Linked DNA regions of Homo sapiens: regions 2, 3, 4, 5, 6 and 7 are each linked to region 1. Evidence: promoter capture Hi-C in 16 types of primary human blood cells and fetal thymus (Javierre and others, 2016). All regions are on one chromosome and are shown on one strand. The core of a region is centred on a gene start or on the middle of the fragment in contact, and the rest is flanking DNA. Distances in the headings are between cores, read along the strand shown. Region 1 holds the start of PDE12 (phosphodiesterase 12). Region 2 holds the start of SPATA12 (spermatogenesis associated 12). Region 3 overlaps IL17RD (interleukin 17 receptor D). Region 4 overlaps IL17RD (interleukin 17 receptor D). Region 5 has its middle 6.4 kb from the start of HESX1. Region 6 overlaps SLMAP (sarcolemma associated protein). Region 7 overlaps SLMAP (sarcolemma associated protein).

Region 1 (3,632 bases), core at 830-3,329:
GAGAATCGCTTGAACCCGGGAGGTGGAGGCTGCAGTGAGCCGAGATCACACCACTGCACTCCAGCCTGGGTGACAGAGTGAGGCTCCATCTCAAAAATAAAAAAATAAAAAAATAATTACATGGAGGCCAATGACAATTACAGTATCAAACACCTTTTTTCTTGCAATTAAAACCAAATGTTTTTAGCTTTTCCCCTTTCAAGAAAATGAAAATTAAAGCTTTTCCATAATTGCAAGCAAAACAACTCTAATGGCCCTCTTAGAAGAAATCCAGAACTTCATACTATGGCTTAGAATGCACTACACAATTTGGTGGATGCATATCTTTCTTATCTGCTACTCTCCCCTGGTCTCACCTTACTCATCACACTGGACCTCTTTCTGGTCTACAGGTAAAGCAATTCATTCGTTCTTCAAGACCTTTTTTTGTTTTGTTTTGAGACGGAGTTTCACTCTTGTTGCCCAGGCTGGAGTGCAATGGCATGATCTCAACTCACTATGACCTCCATCTCCCAGGTTCAAGCGATTCTCCTGCCTCAGCCTCCCTAGTAGCTGGGATTACAGGTGTGCGCCACCATGCCCAGCTAATTTTTTGTATTTTTAGTAGAGACGGGGTTTCACTATGTTGGCCAGGCTGGTCTCGAACTCCTGACCTTAGGCGATCCACCCGCCTCAGCCTCCCAAAGTGCTGGGATTACAGACGTGAGCCACTGGGCCCGGCGTCTTTAAGACCTTTAAAAGAAATAGCAATAAAGTGCACGATTCCTTAGGCCAGGGGAGGTGGTTTTCACTTGTTATCCCAGAATTTTGGGAGGGTAAGGCGGGGGGCTTGCTTGAGGCCAGGAGTTCGCGACCAGCCCAGGAAACATGGTGAAGCCCTTCTCTACTAAAATACAAAAATTAGCTGGGCGTGGTGGTGTGTGCCTGTAGTCCCAGCTACTTGGGAGGCTGAGGCACGAGAATCGCTTGAACTCTGGAAGCCGAAGTTGCAGTAAGCCAAGATCGCACAGCTGCACTCCAGCTTGGGTGAAAGAGCAAGGCCCTACCTAAAAAATAAAAAAATAAAATAAACAGATAAACAACTATTTCTTAATATATGCCCCATTATTATTCCTTATCTGAAATTGAATTTAACTGAGATCCTGTAATTTTATTTGTTAAATGTAGTAACTAAATAGAGTCTTCCTATTTACTAACTAAAAATAAACACTGGGTGGCTCTTGCCTGTTTGTACTTGAGAGGGTTAGGCGGGAGGATCGCACGAGCCCTGGAGTTCGAGGGGGCAGTGAGCTATGATCAGGCCACTGCACTCCAGCTTGGGCGTCAAAGTGACAACCTGTCTCTAATAAAAAATAACAAACAGCCTTCCGCAGTTTGTCAGTACTATTTCTTTCTGCCAATTAATAGTTGTGTGACCCTGAGCAGGTAATATCTCGGGACTCTGCATCTGTAAAGCGATGGATAAAGAGACCTACCTCATAAGAACTATGAGGCTTAAATAAGATAGTGTGTGTAGCGTTTCTCGCATAGTCTGCGCTCACTAAACGGAGTTATTGTATATCGTTCGTTGTTAACTACCACAAAGGCTCTGCTCAGAGGTGCGTAGGCGCTGGCTCAGCCTGGGGTGAACCCACCAGGCCACCGAAACGAGCGATCAGGGTCGGCAAAGCTGTGGAGATGAAATGGGCAACACCTTCCACACTGCGAGTAAAGCTCGCAATCCGGGTGGAGGCCTCCACGTCCTAGCGCAGTCCAGTCCCGGGCGCAGGGAGGAGAGCTGGTCAGCCAAGATTCCAAGACAGGTGTCCACCTCCTCCAACGAAGCGGAACACGTGACACCACCCTATCCACTTCCGGCTTGGAGGGCATGCCCTCCCGTCACCAGCATGCACTTTCGACAAAACCGTGGAATCTAGTATTTTCCTCTGACACCTTTATATTTTCTTCACTTCCCTATAATTCTGACCTATCGTGTAGGTAAAAATTAATCTTCAGAGTATTACAGACATGCGTGCCCACGCGCTAGGCGAAAGTGCGAGTCGGAAGCACTTCATTCCCTCTCTTCGCTAGCCGGAAGTCGCGAGATCTGAATGAGTCAAAGCCGGCGGCCTCGGCTCCTCAGCTCCACCTGACAGTAGGCCGCTGATCGGCCGCGGGTCTTGTCGACCGCTAGGCCACCAGGTTCATGTGGAGGCTCCCAGGCGCCCGCGCCGCGCTTCGGGTGATCCGGACGGCGGTGGAGAAGCTGAGCCGGGCTGAAGCGGGGAGCCAGACAGCGGCGGGAGCGATGGAGCGCGCTGTAGTGCGCTGCGTACCTTCGGAACCCAAGCTGAGCCTGTCATTCGCTTTGGCTGATGGTAGCCACAAGAACATGCAGCGCGACCAGAGCGAGCCGCTGGGTCGAGTCCTCAGCCGCATCGCTACCAATGCCCTAAAGGGTCACGCTAAGGCGGCCGCCGCCAAGAAGAGCAGGAAGAGCCGGCCGAATGCTAGCGGCGGTGCGGCCTGTTCAGGGCCGGGGCCTGAGCCGGCTGTGTTCTGCGAGCCCGTGGTGAAGCTGTACTACCGGGAAGAGGCAGTGGCTGAGGACGTGCTCAACGTGGATGCCTGGCAAGACGGCGCGGTGCTGCAGATCGGCGATGTTAAGTACAAGGTGGAGCGCAACCCGCCCGCCTTCACCGAACTGCAGTTGCCGCGCTACATCATGGCCGGGTTCCCTGTGTGCCCCAAACTCAGCCTCGAATTTGGGGATCCCGCCAGCTCCCTTTTCCGCTGGTATAAGGAAGCCAAGCCCGGAGCGGCGGAGCCCGAGGTCGGTGTCCCCTCGTCATTGTCTCCCTCCTCACCTTCTTCTTCTTGGACTGAGACTGATGTGGAGGAGCGTGTCTACACCCCGTCCAATGCCGACATCGGGCTAAGGCTCAAGCTTCACTGCACCCCAGGCGATGGGCAGCGCTTTGGGCACAGCCGGGAGTTGGAAAGTGTGTGTGTGGTAGAGGCTGGGCCTGGCACCTGCACTTTTGACCACCGGCATCTCTACACGAAGAAGGTGACTGAGGACGCTCTCATCCGCACTGTCTCTTACAACATCCTGGCAGACACGTACGCGCAGACTGAGTTCTCGCGAACGGTTCTGTACCCATACTGTGCCCCCTACGCCCTGGAGCTCGACTACCGCCAGAACCTTATCCAGAAGGAACTCACCGGCTACAACGCCGATGTCATCTGTTTGCAGGAGGTTGACCGCGCAGTGTTTTCTGACAGCTTGGTACCCGCCCTAGAGGCCTTCGGGCTCGAGGGGGTGTTTCGAATCAAGCAGCACGAAGGCCTGGCCACTTTCTACCGAAAGTCTAAGTTCAGCCTTCTTAGCCAGCATGACATTTCATTCTACGAAGCCCTCGAGTCCGACCCACTTCACAAAGAACTGCTGGAGAAACTAGTTTTGTACCCATCAGCGCAGGAGAAGGTGCTCCAGAGATCTTCTGTTCTTCAGGTAAAGTAGTTCCGCCCGTCTCTTCACATACTGTCCCACTTTTAGGGGCCAGGAAGGCGAGGAATGAGGTGGGGGTTAAAAGTGCGATGAAAGTATCCAGATATTGTTGAAAGGTGTGTTTGCCCTTGTATCTTCAGCA
Region 2 (3,632 bases), core at 479-2,978, 500 kb before region 1:
GAACAATGAGAACACATGGACGTAAGAAGGGGAACATCACACACCAGGGACTGTTGTGGGGTGGGGGGAGGGGGGAGGGATAGCATTAGGAGATATACCTAATGTAAATGATGAGTTAATGGGTGCAGCACGCCAACATGGCACATGTATAGATATGTAACAAACCTGCACGTTGTGCACATGTACCCTAAAACTTAAAGTATAATAATAATAAAAAAAAGAAATGCTGACATGCAATCATACTTAACTATGCCTTTTTTTACTATAAAATATATTCATTACTTGTATTTTCTAAATTTTTTCATAAGCACAGGGAAAAAATTTTAAGCCTTGTCTTTAAGCCTAGAGCAAGGGTGTCCAATTTTTTGGCTTCTCTGGGACACACTGGAAGAAGAATTGTCTTGGGCCACACATAAAATACACTAACACTAACAATAGCTGATGAACTAAAAAAAAAACTCATAATGTTTTTTAAAAGTTTATGAATTTGTATTGGGCCACATGTTAGACAAGCTTGGCCTAAAGATAAGTCACATTTTGGAGTCTGTTCTTCCCCGTGTGTGTATGAGTTGGGGGTGGGGGGAGGGAGGGTGGTGAGCAGCATGATTACAAGTCCAGGCTCCTTAATCAGTGATAGGTTCAAATCTGGCTCTGCTATCTGCCACCCACATAGCCTCAGGCAAGTTGCTTCCCTCCATAAGCACATTTCCTCTTCTGCAAAGTAGGACTGAAATGACTGCCTGATGGGGTGACAATGAGGCTTTAAAAAGACGAAGAGGGGCTGGGTATGGTGGCTCACGCCTGTAATCACAGCACTTTGGGAGGCCAAGTTGGGCAGATCACCTAAGGTCCAGAGTTCAAGACCAGCCTGACAAACATGGAGAAACCCCATCTCTACTAAAAATACAAAAGTAGCCAGGCATGGTGGCACATGCCTGTAATCCCAGCTACTCGGGAGGCTGAGGCAGGAGAATCGCTTGAACCTGGGAAGCAGAGGTTGCAGTCAGCGGAGATCACGCCATTGCACTCCAGCCTGGGCAACAAGAGTGAAACTCTATCTCAAAAATAAAAATAAAAATAAAAATAAATAGATGAAGTGAGGGACAAGGCATGGTGGCTCACACCTGTAATCCCAGCACTTTGGGAGGCCAAGGCGGGAGGATCACTTGAGCCTAGGAGTTCAAGAGCTGACTGGACAACATAGCGAGACCCCATCTCTATAAAAAATTTTAAAATTAGCTGGGTGTGTGACATGTACCTACAGTCCCTGTGGGAGGATCTCTTGAGCCTGGGAGGTCAAGGCTGCAGGGAGCCGTGATTGTGCCACGGCACTCCAGCCTGGGCGACAGAGCTGAGATTCTGTCTCAAAAAAAAAAAAAAAAGGAACTTAGCCCAGGGCCCGTATGCAGCAAGCACTTAAATGGTATAGCTGCTGCTACTCGGGTTATCAAAAAGGAGCTGCAAAAAAGTCTAGGTTCTGCAGGAGAGCCCTTCCAAGAACCTGCCCAGGAAGTGGGTACACCTGTCCCCACCCCCACAGTAGGAGTCAGAATCAGGGACTGGAAGGGATGGGGTTCCTGGAGGAAGCTCACAGCAGCAGCAGCCTCTGAGTCACAACTCAGCCCCTCCCTGGCATATCCCTTTGTTTGCTGGGAGTTGAGCTGTGACTCACAAAGGCTCTGGTCCCGGGCTGGGCCCATGTGACCCAGGGTCCTGACTGCCCTGCCCACAGTCACTGAGAAAATTCTTTGTGCAGGCTCACCTTCCCCTCATCTCCCCCACTCTTCCTGATCCTGCAGCGTCAGATCCCAGCCTGCAGTATCAGACCTCAAAAGGAGCCTCTGGTGTCTTGTGAGTAGTTTACCTGCCGCCCCACCCCCACCCCGAAACACACACACACACATGGGCACACACCACCACCACTTCTTTTTTGGCCTGTGCCTGTTTTTTCACTGTGCTACATTTTGACATAAGTTCAATCTATAAAGAAAAAGTCCAGGAGAGTCCAACTCCTCTTATACTCTTTTTTATTGTGGTAAAATATAATATAAAACATACCACTTTAACCATTTTTAAGTGTACAGTTCAGTGACATCTAGCACATTCACCATATTGTACAACTCTTACCATTATCCATTTCCAGAACTTTGTTGTCATTCTAAACAGAAACTGTGTACCCATTCAGCGGTAACTCCTCCTGCACCTGCCCCTCTCCCAGCCCCTACTGTATTAATACTTCTCTCTCTAAACTTGCTATTCCAGGTACCCCCTGTAAGTGTCCTTTTGTGACTGACTTTTCTCATGTAGCATAATACTTTCATGGATCAGCATGTTGTAGCATGTGTCAAAAATTCCTTTATTTATTATTATTTTTTTTTTTGCAATGGGGTCTGGCCCTGTCATCCAGGCAGGAGTACAGTGGCACGATCATAACTCACTGCAGCCTCAAACTCCTGGGCTCAAGAGATCCTCCTATCTTGGCCTCCCAAAGTGCCAGCATTACAGGTGTGAGCCATCTCACTCAACCAGAAATTCCTTCCTTTTTAAGGCTAAATAATATTCCATTGTATGTACATACCACATTTTGTTTATCCATTCATCTGTCAATAGACATTTGTATTATTTTTACCTTTTGGCTATTGTGAATAACGCTGCTGGGAACATGGGAATGCAAGTATCTGTTTGGATCTCTGCTTTCATTTCTTTGGGTATATACCCAGATTTGGAATTGCTGGACTATATGATACCTCTATGTTTAACTCCTGTTACACTTTTAGGATTCTGGCAGCCACCACAGCTAACTCTCAGTGAGCAGTCTCTCATCCTGTGTTACTCACCACTCTAAGAATTTTTATTAACTCATTTAGTCCTGAGGTGTGGTATAATTATTTTCATCCCCATTTTACAGACAAAGAACCTGAGGTGAGAGAGGTCCTCCTTCTCAGATGGCAGCATCAGTATCTGAGCCCGCATAGGTTCAGATTTAAATTGTTTCTCCGGTTGTGACAAAAACAAGGTGCTGCTCTGCCTACAAGCATTTTCTGCCCTGAATAATGCCTTTGGGAGGGTTTCCACATCTTTCCTTGCTCTGGACTAAGGATCAAGTAAAAAAAGAGAGTGGGGCAGGGATGCTCCACTGGATTGGATCTGTCTAGACTCACTGCTAGCAGTGAGAAATCCAACTCCATCTAGATGGGTGAGAAGGGGGATTTGTAGGAAGATCCCTGGAGCAGCTCAGTCATGTGACTAGATCCAAAGGCAATGTGCCCAACCCTCCCCTCGCAGCTCCACACTCTGGGCCTGTCCTCACTGCTCTAGCGCTGGGTGAGTGCCTTCAAGCACCTTCTCTGCCACTTCTGAGTGGGTTAGGATGACCCTGAGGAAGCCCACAGCCTGGCAAGGGTGGCTTGTGTCTAGCTCCAGACCGGCTACCACAGCCGAGGGGAGGGGAACCATGATAGGCCCAGCCAGGACCACAGCCCCCACTCGGGCTCAGGCTAGGCTCAGGAGCACGGCGGCGGGGGCGGGGGGTGCTCAGGAGCATGGGGAAGCCTTTCAGAGAAGAGGGAAGGAAGCAGGGCAAGTGCCCAGCACAGATGCTGCATAATCTACAATAGCAAAAGATTGGAAGC
Region 3 (3,632 bases), core at 316-2,815, 470 kb before region 1:
TACACTCAGAATTTGCAAGAGAAAGGAACCAAGTCACTCAAGATTCTTCCTTCCGCTTAAACTGTTACTGAGGGACAGAGCAGCCTATTGATCAGGAGTGGTGATGCTTCAATCAGACTTCAACTCCAGTGCTGCCAATTTCTTGTTTGTGCCCTTGGCAAAGCTATAGAATTTCTAGACATCAGAATCTCAAAATTGAGGCTGCTGATAGTACCCCCCATAGGGGGTCATGGTGAGAAAAAACATGAAGAGCACTAAGAGCAGGAACCAGCCCTACTGACATTCAGAGGTTGGCAATCATCACTTCCTCTCTGCCACTCATTTTACGGGAAAGCTCTCTATTGCCTTTGACCACACATTTTTGAGTCCATCCCTACCTGGCTGGCTTGACCTTTACCAAGGGGTTACCTGAGCAGTCTAGGTAGGGTTTGCCTCAGCTCATATCCTGGCTCTGCCACTAGCCAGCTATGGGATCACAAGTCAGTTATAGCCTCTCTGAGCCTCAGTTTCCTCATCTGTATAATGGGAACAGTACGATTGGCCACCTCACAGAGCAGCCGTGAAGATGAATGAGATGATGTGTGTAAAGCACTTAGCACTCCTGGAACTAAAAAGAATTGACAGAGTGTGGGGGAAAAGGAAATCAATGGGAGAAATGACAAGGAGCCTCCTGGGTGACTCTACCCAGGAGAAACGAAGGCTATGCGAAGGTCAGGAGGCAAGAATGTGTGAGAATTTCCTCCTCTCAGAAACAACAGTGCTTCCCTCAGAGCTGTTTTCTTTGAGGGGGTTTTGTTTTTTACCACTCCTTCTGTTTTCCTTGGGTTCCCCAGAGTAGGTTGTAGGCCCTGAGCACATTAACATCCCAGTGAAGTATGAGAAGGAACAAGTAAATAAGGAAGATCCAGTTTTTAAAATCTATTATGGTCCCAAGACCCCAAACTTAGACTATATCCTGCTCGGGCAATGGTCAAAAGCTTGTATTCTATGTCCTTGCTATTTGTTAACCCTCACTGTTCTCCTGTGGACACTGTCATTTACTGAGCATGGACTATGAGCCAGGAATGCGCAGGTGGCACTTTACATTCACCATGCAGTTTAATTCACTGCCCTCTAAAGTAGGACCTCTTTACGGGTGAGAGGCTGAGGGGCAGAGTCTGACAGTCACTGGGGCACAGCAACAGTAGCAGAGGCCAGGCATAGTGGCTCACACCTGTAGTCCCAGCACTTTGGGAGACTGAGACGGGAGGATCGCCTGAGCTCAGGAGCTCAAGAGCAGCCTGGGCAAATTAGGGAGAGCCTACCTCTTTAAAAAAAAAAAAAAAAAATTCAGCAGAGCTGGGACCTGACCCTGAAGGTGATGGACACCAAGAAGTTAACTCACAGAGCATGGGGGTCACAGGAGGGGAGGATGTCCATGGAAGACTGAGCAGGCATCTCTTTTTCTGAGTGACAAAAAAAATTTGCGTGCAGCCCCCAAATCTCAGTGGCTTTTTTCAAATTTCTAAAAAGAAAGTCCATTTGTTCTGAGAAGTCAAATTTCTTTCTGACATAAGTAACCCTGTTGCAACAGGGAAGCCTCCTGATGCCACACGGGTAATGGGCGACTGATTGCCTGTGGAGCCGAGCTGAAGGTCTAGGGCAGCAGGGTCCTGTTCTCTAAAGGGCAAGGAAGACTGGCCACCCCTGGCCTCCTCGTCCTGAGGCAGAGCCCTCTGAAAACTGGGCTGGGAACCCCAGACAGTCAGGAAACAAGAAAGATGTGCTGAAAAATGAGCCACTACAACCTTAAAACAAAACATTTTATTTAATGCAGAAATTCTAAGGTACAAAAACATTTTGTAAATGTCAGCTGTGATCTACTTTCACCTAGTTACAGAGTTATGTACAAATCAAGTCATTAACATTTTCAATGTCAAAAATACAGCACGCTGTTAAGAGTTCTGTCAGTGCTCATTATCCCACTAGATCCCACAAAGGGCAAACTCAAAGATGAAACAAAGGCAACGCCATCAATAACCACCATATTCCACAGGCTTTCTCCCCTAGGACGTACTAACAGGGAGTTTCCACAGGGAAAAATTCTCTTTTAAAAAATTAACAGTAAAAATAGGAGTTACTTACTATCTAGATGAACACAATTGGTTTTCACAAAAGCTTTTGCTGCTGTCTGGACTCACCATGCTTTTTTCTTGAGAGAAACATACCAAACTTTTTGTTGTTGTTGTTGAGACGGAGTTTCGCTCTTGTTGCCCAGGCTAGAGTGCAATGGCGTGATCTCAGCTCACTGCAACCTCTGCCTCCCGGATTCAAGCGATTCTCCTGCCTCAGCCTCTCGAGTAGCTGGGATTACAGGCACACACAACCACGCCTGATTAATTTTGTATTTTTAGTAGAGACAGGGTTTCACCATGTTGGTCAGGCTGGTCTTGAACTCTGGACCTCAGGTGATCCGCCCACCTTGGCCTCCCAAAATGCTGGGATTACAGGCGTGAGCCACCGTGCCCCGCCTGATACCAAACTTTTAAAACAACAGATGAGCACATTAGTGTAATCCAATGGCAATTTTTTGTCTAACAATTGGAGCAGCTAATTTTGTCTACATCATGTACAAATAGAAGATTGACTCTGAATCTTCCTGAAATTTTATAGGATATAAACATCAGATATGCAGTCATAACTGTTTGCTTTTGTGAGACTTCTGATTGTGCAAAACGCAGTGCTTGGTCAATTGAGAGCAGAACATAAACAAGATCCTGGAGGTGTCTATGGTCCAAGCTGAATTTTAAAGAACAAAAGGGCAAGAGGGAAGACAACTGGCCAAAATTCCCCAGACATCTTCACTGGGAGATTCAAATGTCTTTGCAAATTAGCCCTCAAACAGCAATGGGAAGGTGGTACTTAGCAACTACTGCTGTTACCACACCAGTGGTTAAACTGAAGTCTGTACCATTTAATATTGTGAGTCATGAAATAAAGGTGATATCTATAGAGATGTGTAAAAATAGGATCTAAAATTGGGAGGGAGGGGTAGCTGCCACTCAGAAGGTAAGAGCTGGTCTCAGAGTATACATCAGGAATAAGCACCAAGTGTTTGATCTCAGGAGGAAAACAAACACAAGTTATGATAGATGACTATCATCAGGGGAAAAATGTGGCAGTCAAATAATTCTCAATGAATATAGGTGACATATCATTTTGTGAAAGTGCCATTATATTTTTAAGTGGTAAGAGGAGCTGGGTGTGCAAGAATTTCCCCATAATCCCCATCCTGAGCCTCGTCTTCACAAGGCACCAATGTGAGTAAGGCACCAACATTGTTTGGGCAACTAAACTAAGTGTGAAGCTGAGAAACATTACAGCAGTGAAAATTATTAGGCCCCTGGAAAACAAGAGCCATGAAGAATGGTTTAAGTGGGTGGAATTATTTATCACTGAAATAAAAACACCAGGGGGATGACTTCACTGTGGTTTTTGAATACATGGAAGGTGACCAGCTGTTCTTTCTCCACTACAAGCCGAACAAAAGGAAGCTGGCTTGAATTTCTCTAAGACATACAAAGAACTATCTGATCAGCAGGGTAGGTTACAGAATCTCCTTCTTATAAAATAAAGAATACCATCTACAGCCA
Region 4 (3,632 bases), core at 726-3,225, 400 kb before region 1:
AGAGGACGGGGAGTGCTCGGTACTGTGGCCCCAGAATCTCTTCCTGAATTTCCCTGTTGTCCAGGCCCCTACTCCTTTGTCTTGCTCCTGGCCCAGACAGGCAGCCACTGTGGACGGGGGACTGGTCCCACAACCTAACACAGGGTGGCTGCTCAAAAAAAGGGTCTCCTGCCTCCTCACTCCAAATAAGTCTTTTTGAGCTTCAGATACTGAACAGTTACAATAAATCCTAACCGTGTGAGTGCCTGTGCTGCACCCAGAGCAAATGTGCACACTCCAGAGGAAGGGGCCATAAACCGTCACTCAACAGAGACCACGCTCAGGCGGCGGACTGCTGCTACATTTGGTCCATACTGCACTGCATTTTCCTCAGATAAAAGGGGGCCGTTTTGGGAGAGAAGAAACCAGAAATCACCCGGACAGAATAAAATCACAGGGAAAGGGTTTCTAAACCATATGGCCTATCTCAGGAAAACACACCTCTTCGTTCCAAGGAAGCCCTCCCTTTATCCCATTAACCCTCCCACTCTCGAGTAAAACAGTCCATCGCAGCACAGAAGTCTGGGGACACTGCCAGCATTTTTTAAAGGGTTACTATTCAATGGGGGGAAAAGATCTACAAAAATGACCAAACAGAACACTTGGAAAAACTCCTAGTTTTGAAGGCAATAAAGTACTTTTTACATCTGAAAAAAAGTTGTATTTAAGGCCTAATCCCTCATGATTTCAAAAGGATTCATATGAAGTATTCATTTAATGTGTGAAATGTAAATATCCATCCAAACATTTTAATTAATGCTACCAATTTCCATTCCGTTTTCAAAGTTGATACTTGAATTTTATATGGCTTTTCTGGTACGTTCAAGCATGCTTCCCTACCATGTAGTAGTTTTAATGAAAAGCCTCATGATTAACGTCTATTAGATCAGGTATGGAATGAAGAAAGGTACAATAAAATTACAATTTACTAAGCTTCCAATAATACTTGCCATCTACTGCCCTTTCAAGTCTTAAGGTACCAGCCATATGCAAATAAGACATTTTAGCATTAGTTTTACCATAAAATGAATGCTTCTTAAATAAGCACAGTAGAGGTAGTTTTCATTTACACTATTAAATCAGAAAATTTATGAGCCCATTTCCGTTTTAGAAGAGAATTACATGTGTGTTCACATCACATCTTTATTTTGTCGTCCACCCAGTGATTTGTTGAGGACAGCTGGTACCTATTAAGTCCCCCCCTTTAAATGTTGTAGCCTTAATTAGCTACATCCACCTTCCCCCAACATTTCCAAACAAGGAACCAAAGAAAAGGGAATCCATTTTTATCATGGATACTTTGAACAATGGAGTTGCAAACATCAATGTTAACAGTCTCTATTAGAAACTAGTTATTCGTTTTTTAGGCCACTTCACAAAAACATGGTACAAATGGAGTTTTTGTTATGTAGGTAATTTTTTAAATTGTTCAATTTTTAGTTTCCTGCCTGGTGTTATTAATTAAAAGCCTTCTTTTAATATATTGTTTGGGAAAGGATGAAGGAGTCTCCCCAGAGATATTCTTGGTATTATTTAAGCTACAGACTTCTTTCTTACTTGGACTTTTCAGCATATGACTGAACAGGTAGAATCTGCAAATAGAGAAAGCAGCAGGGTGTGGTTTTCTATGAACAGACAACATGCCCTTCCCAGACACCAAAGGGTTTCCAACTCACACAATGAGAAATTGTTGATTGGATTGCTTTAACCTGCCATATATAGATAAAACACACACTGACTTAATTTACAATGTCGATATCTCTTCTTTTTTTTTTTTTTTAAAGACACATTTACATTTATGCACTCAGGACTTCAAGTGTGAATTCTGTTCAACAGACTAAATTCTGAGCAAGATAATGGGCCATCTCAAAGATTCCCCCCTTGGATTTGTTTCTTCAAGACTGGCCCTAGCTTTAATCTGCAGTAAGACTATCTGTTTCAATAGGATGTGATCACTTGAGGGCTTGTGTCTTTTCAATCAGCCGGTGGCCCTGCCGGGTTTAGAGTGGCAGAGGGGAAGTGGCCTGTGGTTAAACAGAGGAAATACCAAGGCATTTTAATAGAGCAAATAGTCTCTTTACTTCCCACCGGGAAGAGCTTCAAAGGCTGTGGGCCCCGGAGGAGACAATGTGTTTCGGAGGCCATCAGTCACCTAATCGTGTGTCAGGCCCATTCAGAACATCCAAGCAGCCAAGACAAACACTGCCCAGGAGGACAATGCCTCCCACTGGCTGGGCAAGTCTGGCTGGCTGGAGATGGGGCCTGTAGCTCCAGCACAGACAGCCCCCCGGCTGACTGAGGGCAGGAGCTCTCCAAATTTGGGAGTAGATGGGAAATGGAAAAGGTCTGGCTGCCAGGGCAGGGTGGCCAGAGAGAGGTCTGCTCTAAGGCCACTGCACCTCTCAACCTGTCAAGCTCCCTGATAGCTGAGCCCTCTCCTCACCCCACATTCTTACAAATCAAGGGTGGAGGCTCAAGTTCTAGAAGCCTAAAAACCCATCCATCAGAAGCAGGCTGAAGAGGCAGTGGGGGGCCAGGCACGGTGGCTCACGCCTGTAATCCCAGCACTTTGGGAGGCCAAGGTGGACAGATCATCTGAGATCAGGAGTTCGAGACCAGCCTGGCCAACATGGTGAAACCCTGTCTCTACTAAAAATACAAAAATTAGCTGGGTGTGGTGGTGGACGCCTGTAATCCCAACTACTCGGGAGGCTGAGGCAGGAGAATCGCTTAAACCTGGGAGGCGGAGATTGCAGTGAGCTGAGATCATGCCAATGCACTCCAGCCTGGGCTCCAGAGCGAAACTCCGTCTCAAAAAAAGAGGCAGCGGGGAATGAAGGAGGACAATAAAATTGTTGATGGGGTAGCCCCAGCAGGAGCAGACACCTGCTGGGGCACAGTATATAAAAAGTTCAGGGACAGAGGAAGAAAAAGCCTTGAAAGCTTTAAAAAAGAAAAAAAAAACATGTTTTAGGCCAAATGAAGCATGAAAAATACTTAAAAGCACTAGCAGTTCTTTCCTTTGTTGGGAAGTTGTAAGATTTGAACTGCTGAGAATCTGATTTGGATCCTGTGCTACTCCTTCCTGAGACTGTTTTCAGACAAACCCAGCTGTTCTAGGGAGGAACTCAGGGGAAGTGTCAAGTCCTCTTCACTCCAGGCCTCCTCATCTGCCCCAGGCCAGAGGCACCCATCCAAACTAGCTTCTCCCCCGCCCCGCTTCCCTGCTCCTCCCATCCTCACACTCCCCACCCAGCCTGACCCCTTTTATCGGTCAGGGCTCTGAGAAAGTCTTCACATTCTTCTCTAAGGCCAGTGACATAATTTAAAGCCAAACTCTGATTTTAAATGTTTAGAATGTGTGTTCTCCCCTTCTTTGGATTGTGGGACCCCTGTCCCCTAAAACAATAGGTCTCATCCTGGTTACAGCATGCGTATCCTCAAAAGAATTTGTTAAAATGCCAATTCCTGGGCTCCACCTCACTCTCACTCTGATCCCATTAGCTTTCAATCTGCATTTTAACAAGCTCCTGAGGCAATTCTGATACTGGAAGGCCCAGGGTGTCACTTGGAGAAAAAGTTAACTGCTGGTC
Region 5 (3,632 bases), core at 487-2,986, 360 kb before region 1:
GTTCCCTTCTATTCCTAGTTTGATGAGAATTTTTATCATAAATGGCTACTGCATTTCAATGGATATTGAATGCTTTTCAATGTCAGTTGGTATAATAATGTGATTTATCATCTTTAGTCTATTAATATGGTAGATAACATTAATTGATTTTCAAATATTAAACCAGGCTTGTCATCCCCTAAGTAAATCCCACTTGGTGATACTGTGTTATTCTTTTTTGTATTGCTGGATTTTATTTACTAATATTTTGTTGAGGATTTTTGCATCTTCGTTAATGAGGGATAGTGAACTTGGGCTTTTTTCTTCCCTTCTTTTACTGTCTTTAATTTAGTATCGGGGTAATATAAGTCTCATAAAATGAGTAGAGAAGTGATCTTCTTCTTGTATCTTCTGAAAGAGATTGTGTAGAATTGATGTTACTTCCTCTTTCAATGTTAGATAGAATTTGCCAGTGAAACCATCTGGGCCTGGAGTTTACCTTTTCAGAGGTATAAAATTATTATTTCACATTTCTTTAATAAGTATAGAACTGTTATAGTTATTTGTTTCTTCTTGGGTGGATTTTAGTAGTTTGTAGATTTGATCTATTTCTTCTGAGCTATCAAATGTGCGCATAGAGTTGTTCATAGTATTATCTTATTCTTCTTTTAATGTTGATGTGGTCTGTAGTTATAGCCCCTCTTTCATTCCTAATGTCAGTGACTTGTATCTTCTCCTTTTTTTCTTTGTTAGTCTGGCTAAAGGTTTATTAATTTTATTAAGATTTGTAAAGCATCAGTTTTTGGTTTCATTGACTTTTCTCCATGGTTTTTCTGATCTTTGTCTTCTGATTATTCTGAATTTATTATGCTCTCTTTTTTGTTGTTCTTAAGGTAAAAGGTTAGATTGCTGATTTGAGATCTTTACTAAATTTTTTTTTTTTTTTTTTTTTTTGAGAAAGGGTTTCACTCTGTCACCCAGGCTGGAGTGCAGTGACATGATCATGGCTCACTGCAGCCTCAACCTTTTGAGTTCAAGCAATCCTCCCACCTCAGCTTCCTGAGTAGCTGGGACCGCAGGTGCACATCACCATGCCTAGCTTATTTATTTATTTTTTTGAGACAGAGTCTCGCTCTGTTGCCCAGGCTGGAGTACAGGGGGGTGGTCTTGGGTCACTGCAACCTCTGCCTCATGGGTTCAAGCGATTCTCCTGCCTCAGCCTCCCAAGTAGCTGGGATTACAGGCACCTGCCACCATGCCCAGCTAGTTTTTCTATTTTTAGTAGACACGGGGTTTCACCATGTTGGCCAGGCTGGTCTCAAACTCCTGACCTCAAGTGATCTGCCCATCTTAGCCTCCCAAAGTACTGGGATTACAGGTGTGAACCACCATGGCTGGCTAATTTTTTAATTTTTTGTAGACCTCGGTCTCACTATGTTGCCCAGGCTGATCTTGAACTTCTGGCCTCAAGCGATCATCCTGCCTTGGCCTCCCAAAGTGCTGAGATTACAGGTGTGAGCCACCATGCCTGGCCTCCACAAATTTCTGATGGCAATTTCAGGGAAAAAGGACTTAAATCTAGTGATTGTTGTTACATCTTAATAAGGTTTAAAATACAAAAAAAAAAAAATCTTAATGAGGCTTAATATTTATACAGGTAAGGATGTACATATTATCTAGACAAAATGCCATTTATATATAGAGAAAATATTATTTCCAAAAAATTATTGGGACTTAAGTAATTATTGATTACTTTAGGTATCAAACACTCAGACTTTTAATCCCATCCCCCTACTCCCACCCAACCCTGCCAAAAAAAAAAAGTGGAAGGAAGGAAGAAAGGGAGGAAGAAAAGAAAAATGTAGTACATGTTTCTAGCTATTAGCATCACAGCCAGTAACTCCATCTACTGGAAGGCTTAAGAGGAAGAGGCAACTCTGGAGTCAGGCAGAACTTGGTCTGAATTCTGGCTGAGCTGCTTCAGCTGTGTGGCCATGATCAAGTCATTTAATCTGTGTCCTTCAATCAGCTCATCTGTAAAATGGGGTAATAATAATCATAATAAAGGCCCGGCGTGGTGGCTCATGCCTGTAATCCCAGCACTTTGGTAGGCTGCGGTAGGCAGATCTCTTGAGGTCAGGAGTTTGAGACCAGCTTGGCCAACATGGAGAAACCCTGTCTCTACTAAAACTACAAAAATTAGCTGGGTATGGTAGCGCACGCCTGTAGTTCCAGGTACTTGGGAGGCTGAGGCAGGAGAATCGCTTGAACCCAGCGGGTGGAGGTTGCAGTGAGCCGAGATCATGCCGCTGCACTCCAGCCAGGGCAACAGAGTAAGACTCCATCTCAAAAAAAAGAATCATCATCATAATAAAAATATCTGATGCTAGGTTTTCTTATTTGTAAAGTGGATTGCCTATATTCACTTTGCAGAGTGACTGTGAAAATTAAATGGGAATATTCATGTGAAGAACCATATTGCATAGCTCATGGTGGACACTTAGTCCATTTGGGCTTCTATAACAAAAATGCCACAGACTGGGCAGCTTATATACAACAGAAATTTATTTCTCACAATTCTGGAGGCTGTGAAATCCAAGATTAAAGCATAGGCAGAAGAAGTGAGTCTAATGGGGTGTAGAGTGTTGAGAGCCACCAGGAGCTGCCTTGTGCTGTGGACTGATGTTCCAACAGGAGTCAGAACAGTCAAAATGACCATGAAAGGTATCCAAAGACTAACTTTGGAGGGGGTTTTATTCCTATGGGGCTCAGTGAAATGGAGATAGCAAGTCACCCTTTGTCAGAATGTGAGTTGAGTTCCATATTGAGAAAATTGAGCAGTTCCCAGCTCTCTGCTGGGAGGAACAAGGCCCAGGTTGATGCTCTGTGCTGGGTTTGGTAATGGGAGATTTATGCCATTCGTGTGATGTGTGATAAGATGCAGGAGGTGAAAGCGGCTATGAACACTGATTAACTCAAAAGTTGACCACCAGCACACACAGCCATTGTTTCCAGCAGCACTCTTTAGTGATGGGCTTTGTCTGGCTGGCTTCACAAAAGACAAATGCCATTACAGGAGACCAAATAACCTTATTTAGGCAGTTGTCAGATAATAGAGACGCTCCAGGTATTAGCCTGACTGCATTAGCTTGATTTGTTACTACTGTTCACCTTGTCTTGAGCATTAATGGAGACAAAAGGCCTAGAATTACCAGGAACAGAGATAAGCTGTGGATTAGAGCCTACGTGTTTTGAGGGAAAGATAATTCTATCTCGGGTTTTCCTTTCCATTTTCATTTTGCTTGATTTTTCCCGAGTCCAATTTTCCCCCTGAATATCATTATATTCTCTCCAAATTTCTAGCAATTGTAATTCCAAAAATGTTACTGATTCATTATTTCTTTTAACAAGATCAGCCTTTATCTTTAGATTTTTAAAAAAGATTTTAGGGGAAATACACTAGCAATCTTTTCTATTACCCTGCTTCTTGAGTATTCTTATATATTATGAACTTGCTTCACAAAAGTTATAATAGAACTTATATTGTTATTAGTATCAAAAAATATAAAAAAATAGGCATATTACATTTATAGTTATTTATTTAATATTATAAATTCTTGTTTTAATTTTTCTGACTTATAAATGTTTCAGTT
Region 6 (3,632 bases), core at 323-2,822, 330 kb after region 1:
CATGGTGAAACCCCGTCTCTACTAAAAATACAAAAATTAGCTGGGTGTGGTGGTGCGCACTCATAGTCCCAGCTACTTGGGAGGCCGAGGCAGGAGAATCATTTGAACCCGGGAGGCAGAGGTTGCAGTGAGCTGAGATTGTGTCACTGCACTCCAGCCTGGTGACAGAGTGAGACTGTCTCAAAAAAAAAAAAATAGTGATTATAGATTGACAAAATGCAACTCTTGAGGATGGTAGTAGAAAATGGCAAAATTTAACCGTGTAAAATAGATTCTCAATAAATATCTAAAATGGAAAAATAAAATCAATGTATTATTTAGAAATATAAATGTAAGTATCAGAAGAAATGGCTAAAAGTTGTAGGAAGTGAATTTTAGGAATGGAGTGAAGTAGGACAGAGGACAGGTAGGACAGCTTACATTATACATCTTAATCAAAATCTGTTACTTTCTGTTTTTTTTTCTTTTTTTCTGTTTTTTTTTGAGATGGAATCTCGCTCTGTCATACAGTGGCGCCATCTCTGCTCACTGCAAGCTCCGCCTCCTGGGTTCACACCATTCTCCTGCCTCAGCCTCCCGAGTAGCTGGGACTACAGGCACCCGCCACCATGCCCAGCTAATTTTTTGTGTTTCCAGTAGAGACAGGGTTTCATCATGTTAGCCAGGATGGTCTCTGTCTCCTGACCTCGTGATCCACCCGCCTTGGCCTCCCAAAGTGCTGGGATTACAGGCGTGAGCCACTGCGCACGGCCCCTCTTTCTGATTTTAAAAAGTCAGAGACAAAGTGCCACATACTGCAAAGAGCCTATGAGAAATGAAAATTAAGAAAAGGAGCCATGGGCATTGGGAGACTAGAGGCTATAATGATATTGGAGCAGTTTCAATGGTTGAGTGGTGGATGTAGACCAAGTTGCAGTTGGTTGTAAAGCAAGAGAATAGAAAATTTTCTTCACATATATTACAAATGAATAAATTGAAGGAGACCAACTGACATACAGGAGTAAATAAGGGGACACAGAATAGATATATCCTCTTCAATGAAACGTGGAATATGAAAATATGACTTTAAATTATAAAAAAGTAGCATTATACATTTACAGAAAATCCCCCATAAAACAAAACAAAATTTTTTTATTTCTTTGAATAGCTTTTCTAAAATGATTCATTTACTGAAATACATTATATAGGCATCTCTGCTGAATTATGTCAGCAGAGAACAGTAAACTATCGATATAACTTAATTTTTATTACTTCTTCATTTGAATAAATACCTTTTCATAAATCTTTTATTTTAACTTAATAGCCTTGATCTAAAGAGGATTGCTTTATTTCTTCTGAGCCCTTTTTATAAAAATATCTAGGCTTTTAAAATAAGGTGAAAATAAAAGGCAAATTGTCTGCCTGCCCCTAGTTTTCTGCATTAACGTGATTGCTCCGTCATAGTTCCAGTTCTCTTAGTTCCCCTTCCAGATTCAAGTTTTTATTCAAGCTTGGTCATAGGAGTAATGTTATCATCTTTAAATTTGGTCATGGAATGTGTTACACTGCCCAGCTCAGGGAAATGCTGCTCAGTTTGGGCTTGGATGGTAACGTTTATTTTCCTTGGCAGAGAAGCTGATCGTCGAAGGGCATCTAACCAAAGCGGTAGAAGAAACAAAGCTTTCAAAAGGTTTGTTTTCTGTTTTTCTATGTTTTTTGACAGTTCTTTTGGATAATGAAGGTTAGTGTATATTTTCAAGGTTATAGTATTTTAACCATCAGTTTACTTCTTATAGCTCACAAAATAGCAAGCCAGTAACAGTATCAGATAATATATAAAATAATCAGACTTCTGTTTTAAGAAGGGTATCGTAACTGGAATGTGTCTTTTTAAGTGGATGTATATTTATGGTTTTTTGAATGTTAGTACTTGATATAGGTTTCTTTAGGTATTAAAGATTTGTTGCAATCTCTGTCATTCCCAGCATTAATTTCAGCTTTGATCTCAAATTTTAATCAAACACAATGTAAGTCGTTTGTGATACAACTTAAGTGAAACATGCTTGCACTTCTATTTTGGGGGTTACAGTACCTTTAAAATCTCTTATGATGTTTAATATTTCCTTAATTTTTGGCATCTCAGTTTGATTTAAACAAAATTAATGACTTTTGTGAATGTAGAATCTTCTTATATTTTATGAGTAGTCCAGTAATTGCCCAAAGTAGTTTATTGTGTTAATTCTGTTACAGTTGTCAGAGAAGAAAAGTGAGTTTTAAAGCACCATATTGTCAAGTCACTTTTATACATAGGGAAATTAGGCAAATAAATTTGGTGGCATGTGTTTATCATAGTAGAACTTTCATTAGACTATACCAGTATAAAATTTAAAACTAGATTCACAGTCCTTTTGGCCAATTAAAACATTGAGTTACAAAAGTTTGAGATACTTAATTTTAGTACATTCTATTTTATTAAAGTAACTGGATTCATTTGACTTTTTTAACCATGTAAGAGGATGGTGTTATTTCAAATATCTCGTGGTTTCCATTCTGAATTTTGTGCACGGCAGATGCCATATTTGGGGAAAAAATGCATAGAATATGCATCATTAATATTGTTTTGGCAAACAGGCATTGAGTTTCAGAACAGTGAACTATTTTTAGTACATATGGCAATTTTTTTCACCTTATTAAAGTGAGATGAGAACAGACCTTAAAATAGCTTTTACCTCACCATCCAAATACCTATTCAGATTAGTTGGTTGAATAGCCAGCACTTTGAAGTAGAGCCTTAGGAAAAAAAAAAAAAATGCTTCTTTAATTAAAATATCTTGCTATCTTATCACTTATATTTAATGCATTCTAAATTAGAAAATATTTTCTTGAAATTATGTTTTATCATTATTGGAAAAGTTTTGTGCATTACTGATTTCCCTTTTTAATTTATTGTTTTTATCTTATTGATACATAATGTGCATATTTTCAGGATATGTTTTATAGTTTGATACATTTAATGTATAAAGATCAAATCAGGGTAATTAGAATATCATCACTTTAAATATTTATCTTTGTATGATTTCCTTTTAAACCTGGCTATAAACTGTTTATTGGAAGTTTTAAAGAACATGCCTTTTGATCCAACAATTCCACTTTTGGGTTTTTAACCCTTTTTTTTTTTTCCTTGAGACGGAGTTTCGCTCATGTTGCCCAGGCTGGAGTGCAGTGGCACAATCTCAGCTCACTGCAACCTCCACCTTCTGGGTTCAAGTGATTCTCCTGCCTCAGCCTCCTGAGTAACTGGAATTATAGGCGCATGCCACCATGCCTGGCTAATTTTGTATTTTTAGTAGAGAATGAGGTTTCACCATGTTGACCAGGCTGGTCTCAAACTCCTGACCTCAGATGATCCACCCGCCTCGGCCTCCCAAAGTGCTGGGATTACAGGTGTGAGCCACCATGTCCGGCCTGGGTTTTTAATCTTAAAGAACAAATTGGACTAATGAGCAAGAATATTTATTTCAGTGTTGTTTAAAAGCAACAAGAGGAAAGCATTAGGGTCCATTAATAAGGGTATTTATTAAATAAATTATGGCAAATAAGTCCATGTAAATGAATAGAATATATTCTTTAAGAATAATACAAATATAAGTTTT
Region 7 (3,632 bases), core at 764-3,263, 310 kb after region 1:
GAGTTTCAGACCAGCCTGAGCATCATGGTGAAACTTTATCTCTACAAAAAATACAAAAATTAGCCACGCATGGTGGCCACACACCTGTAATCCCAGCTACTCAGGAGGCTGAGGTGGGAGGATCACTTGAGCCCAGGAGGTCGAGGCTGCAGTGAACTGAGATCATGCCACTGCAGGCGATGGGAGTGAGACCCTGTCTCAAAAAAAAAAAAATCATGTCCGGGGCAGTGGCTCACACCTGTAATCCCAGCACTTTGGGAGGCCAAGGCGGGTGGATCACTTGAGGTCAGTAGTTGAAGACCACCAAGGTCTGGACAACTTTGTGAAACCCTGTCTCTACAAAAAATACAAAAATTAGCTGGGCGTGGTGGCACGCTACTGTAATCCCAGCTACTCTAGGAGGCTGAGGCAGGAGGATCACTTGAACCTGGGAGGCAGAGGTTGCAATGAGCCCAGATCGTGCCACTGCACCCCAACCTGGGCAACAGAGTGAGACTCTTGTCTCAAAAAACAAAACAAAACAAAACAGTCAATCAGTCATCACCCTCTTGATTTTATATTAATAATGTTAGTATTAACCCAAGCTGGGAACCTGCTATTCATTCCTTCAGTTAAGAGAATCGTTTTATGTACATGGAACCATCTTTATACTATTTAGAGTTGTAAAATTACTGATTCATTTTTTTCCAGTTCCAGTTGGTTCAGATGAAAATAATAGTAGACTGTTTTCATATTGTATTAATATAATTGTTAAAGACTCCTTGATTTTAAGAATAAATATTTTAGATACTTAAAGGTAACTCCTTGCCATAATTATTTTTTCCTTATTTGTGTGCTTGCTTTTTTGGTGGTGATATATTGAGTTACGGTATGATAGTGACTAATAGAATATTTTAAAAGAAACTAAGCAATAAATTTCTAGATGTACACGAAAACTTAGTTAAGGGTGGACTTTGGAATAAGATGCGTCACTTAATTCCATTCCAAATCACTTATAATAATGAACCAATTTTCAAGTATCCCAGTATTACCAATGTCCATACCCATATTATATAATTTTAACTAAATTATTCTTTAAATAGTAGAGAGCCAAATATAGTTGTAAGAGAATATTTTTAAATATCTGAAGATGTTAAAATTAATAATACTAATACTTTCAGTGAATCCCATTTTAAAAATTAAATATAATGTAGCTACTAAAAGCACAGGTTTTGTACTGTAAATTTTTTGTGTGTCTTATCTAATAAGCATAAGCTGAATGTATCTTAGAGAGTAAAGGACAGTGTTGTCCGAAATAAACATAAGGCTGGGTGTGGTGGCTCACACCTATAATCCCAGCACTTTGGGAGGCCAAGGTGGAAGGATTGCTTGTGTCCAGGAGTTCAAGACCAGCCCGAGCAACATAGTGAGAACCCATCTCTATAAAAAAATTAAAAATTAGCTGGGCATAGTGGTGTGCACCTGTAGACCCAGCTCCTCAGGAGGCTAGATGGGAGAATCACTTGATCCCAGGAGGTCAAGGCTGCAGTGAGTCATGATCACACCACTGTACTCAGCCTGGGTGACAGAGTGAGACCCCATCTCAAAAAAATAAAAAATAAACATAATGAGAGCCACATACATAATTTTAAATTTTCTGCTGGGCAAAGTAGCTTGCTCCTGTAATCCCAGCAAGGGAGGATTGTTTGAGCCCAGAAGCTCGAAACCAGCCTGGGCAACATAGTGAGACCCCATCTCTAAAAAGAAAAAAAAAATTTTTTTTTTAAATTAGTGAGGTGTGGTGGCATGTGCCTGTAATCCCAGCACTTTGGGAGGCTAAGCAGGGAAGACTGCTTGAGGCCATTAGTTTGAGACCAGCCTGGGCAACATAGTGAGACTTCTGTCTCTACACAAAATTTAAAAATTAGCCAAGTGTGGTAGTACACACCTGTGGTCCTAGGTAGTTGGGAGGCTGAGGAGGGAGGATCCCTTGAGCCCAGAAATTCAAGGTTGCAATGAACTATGATTGTGCCACTGTACTCCAGCCTGGACAACAGAGTAAGACCCTGTCTCTTAATTTAAAAAAATTCTGGCAGCCACATTGTATTAGTCAGGGTTCTCTAGAGGGACAGAACTAATGGAATATATATATATATATATATATATATAAAATATATATATGTGTATTATATATAAAAATATATATTATATATGTGTGTATTATATATAATATATATTATATATATTATATATGTGTGTATTATATATAATATAATATATGTTATATGTGTGTATTATATATAATATATGTGTGTATTATATATAATATATATTATATATGTGTATTATATATAATATATATTATATGTGTATTATATATATAATATATATTATATATATTATATATATAAAGGGGAGTTTATTAAGTATTAACTCACACAATCACAAGGTCCCACATAGGCCATCTGCAAGCTGAGGAGCAAGGAGAGCCAGTCTGAGTTCCAAAACTGAAGAACTTGGAGTCTGATGTTCGAGGACAGGAAGCATCCAGCACAGGAGAAAGATGTAGGCTGGGAGGCTAGGCCAGTCTCTCTTTTCACATTTTTCTGACTGCTTATATTCTAGCTGCACTGGCAGCTGATTAGGTTGTGCCCACCCAGATTAAGGGTAGGTCTGCCTTTCCCAGCCTACTGACTCAAATGTTAATCTCCTTTGGCAACAACCTCACAGACACACCCAGGATTAATACTTTGTATCCTTTAATCCATTCAAGTTGACACTCAGTATTAACCACCACACACATTAAAAATATAAAAAGCTGGGTGCAGTGGTACATGCCTGTTGTCCCAGTTACTTGGGAGGCTAAGGTAGGAGGATCCCTTGAGGCCAGGAGTTTGAGGTTGTAGTGCACTACAATCACACCTGTGAATAACTACTGCACTTGATCCTAGACAACATAGCAAGATCCCATCTCTATTATATATATATATATATATATATATATATAATATATATAAACAAAACAAATTCTAATGATCTATTTTGCCTACAGCATCCAAAATATTTCAATATTAATAAATATTAAAATGATTAATAAATTATTCATAAAATTTCATATCACTGTTTTCTTACTAATTCATTGAAATCATTGTACATTTGTTTTATGCTTAGGACATCTCAATTAGAGCTAGCCACATTTGAAGGGTTTAGTAACTACAGTAGCTAATGGCTATAGTATTAGATAACACAGGTATATAAATAAAAATCCATAGGAAACTCATTTATATAAATAAAATGTATTTTAAGTAGAGTGGTTCTCTATCTTTTTATATTAATATCAGATTTTATCTAAACCAGTTTAGTAAATATTTTAATGTAGAGTTCAGATAAAAGTGTGATTGTTAGCTTTGTAAGTAATGGTAGGATGTCCCTCTTTAATAAATGTCATCTTAAGTTCTTTGATATTAGTCTGAAATATGTTTCAAATATGTTTTGTAAAGTCCTTTAGTTAAGTTAAAATATCATTCCAAATGAGTTTATATATATATAACATGATGATGTAGTTTGAGTTTTTAAAGTGTTACCATAGCTAAAATGGGATTTATGAAAAACAACTTTTTATCCTGGCAATTACTATTATACTGAGGGCTCCC

What was found. Contacts are between HindIII fragments. The CHiCAGO score rates a contact against its expected background, and 5 or more counts as called.
Region 2: a contact is called between the fragment with the promoter of SPATA12 here and the fragment with the promoter of PDE12 in region 1, in 2 of 17 cell types (endothelial precursors and M1 macrophages). The highest score is 5.7, in endothelial precursors.
Region 3: a fragment that was not itself captured here is called in contact with the fragment with the promoter of PDE12 in region 1 in 1 of 17 cell types (endothelial precursors); the score reaches 5.7 in endothelial precursors.
Region 4: a fragment that was not itself captured here is called in contact with the fragment with the promoter of PDE12 in region 1 in 2 of 17 cell types (endothelial precursors and megakaryocytes); the score reaches 5.4 in endothelial precursors.
Region 5: a fragment that was not itself captured here is called in contact with the fragment with the promoter of PDE12 in region 1 in 1 of 17 cell types (M1 macrophages); the score reaches 5.5 in M1 macrophages.
Region 6: a contact is called between a fragment that was not itself captured here and the fragment with the promoter of PDE12 in region 1, in 2 of 17 cell types (M1 macrophages and naive CD4 T cells). The highest score is 5.7, in M1 macrophages.
Region 7: a fragment that was not itself captured here is called in contact with the fragment with the promoter of PDE12 in region 1 in 1 of 17 cell types (neutrophils); the score reaches 5.5 in neutrophils.

What each region holds. Positions count from the first base shown.
Region 1 is chr3:57,554,195-57,557,826 of GRCh38, forward strand. It overlaps PDE12 (phosphodiesterase 12), which reads left to right and starts at 2,080. Exons shown (of 3, transcript NM_177966.7): 1 at 2,080-3,493. The coding sequence starts at 2,186. It also overlaps a transcript of DNAH12 not described here. RefSeq lists enhancers at 1,574-2,353, 2,844-3,013. The HindIII fragment of the contact is 2,707 bases long and covers 218-2,924 here.
Region 2 is chr3:57,058,936-57,062,567 of GRCh38, forward strand. It overlaps SPATA12 (spermatogenesis associated 12), which reads left to right and starts at 1,729. Exons shown (of 2, transcript NM_181727.2): 1 at 1,729-1,851. It also overlaps a transcript of ARHGEF3 not described here. The HindIII fragment of the contact is 10,199 bases long and covers 512-3,632 here.
Region 3 is chr3:57,088,194-57,091,825 of GRCh38, forward strand. It overlaps IL17RD (interleukin 17 receptor D), which reads right to left. Exons shown (of 13, transcript NM_017563.5): 13 at 1,789-3,632. Among named protein-coding and RNA genes, the nearest start is that of SPATA12, 29 kb to the left of the region's middle. The HindIII fragment of the contact is 1,180 bases long and covers 976-2,155 here.
Region 4 is chr3:57,157,320-57,160,951 of GRCh38, forward strand. The region is part of intron 1 of IL17RD (interleukin 17 receptor D); the gene reads right to left. Among named protein-coding and RNA genes, the nearest start is that of IL17RD, 6.2 kb to the right of the region's middle. RefSeq lists enhancers at 1,600-2,285, 2,286-2,969. The HindIII fragment of the contact is 2,010 bases long and covers 971-2,980 here.
Region 5 is chr3:57,191,802-57,195,433 of GRCh38, forward strand. No RefSeq gene overlaps it. Among named protein-coding and RNA genes, the nearest start is that of HESX1, 6.4 kb to the right of the region's middle. The HindIII fragment of the contact is 5,377 bases long and covers 1-3,632 here.
Region 6 is chr3:57,888,432-57,892,063 of GRCh38, forward strand. It overlaps SLMAP (sarcolemma associated protein), which reads left to right. Exons shown (of 25, transcript NM_001377540.1): 15 at 1,610-1,669. Among named protein-coding and RNA genes, the nearest start is that of FLNB, 120 kb to the right of the region's middle. The HindIII fragment of the contact is 170 bases long and covers 1,488-1,657 here.
Region 7 is chr3:57,866,675-57,870,306 of GRCh38, forward strand. All of the region lies in intron 13 of SLMAP (sarcolemma associated protein), which reads left to right. Among named protein-coding and RNA genes, the nearest start is that of SLMAP, 110 kb to the left of the region's middle. The HindIII fragment of the contact is 6,509 bases long and covers 1-3,632 here.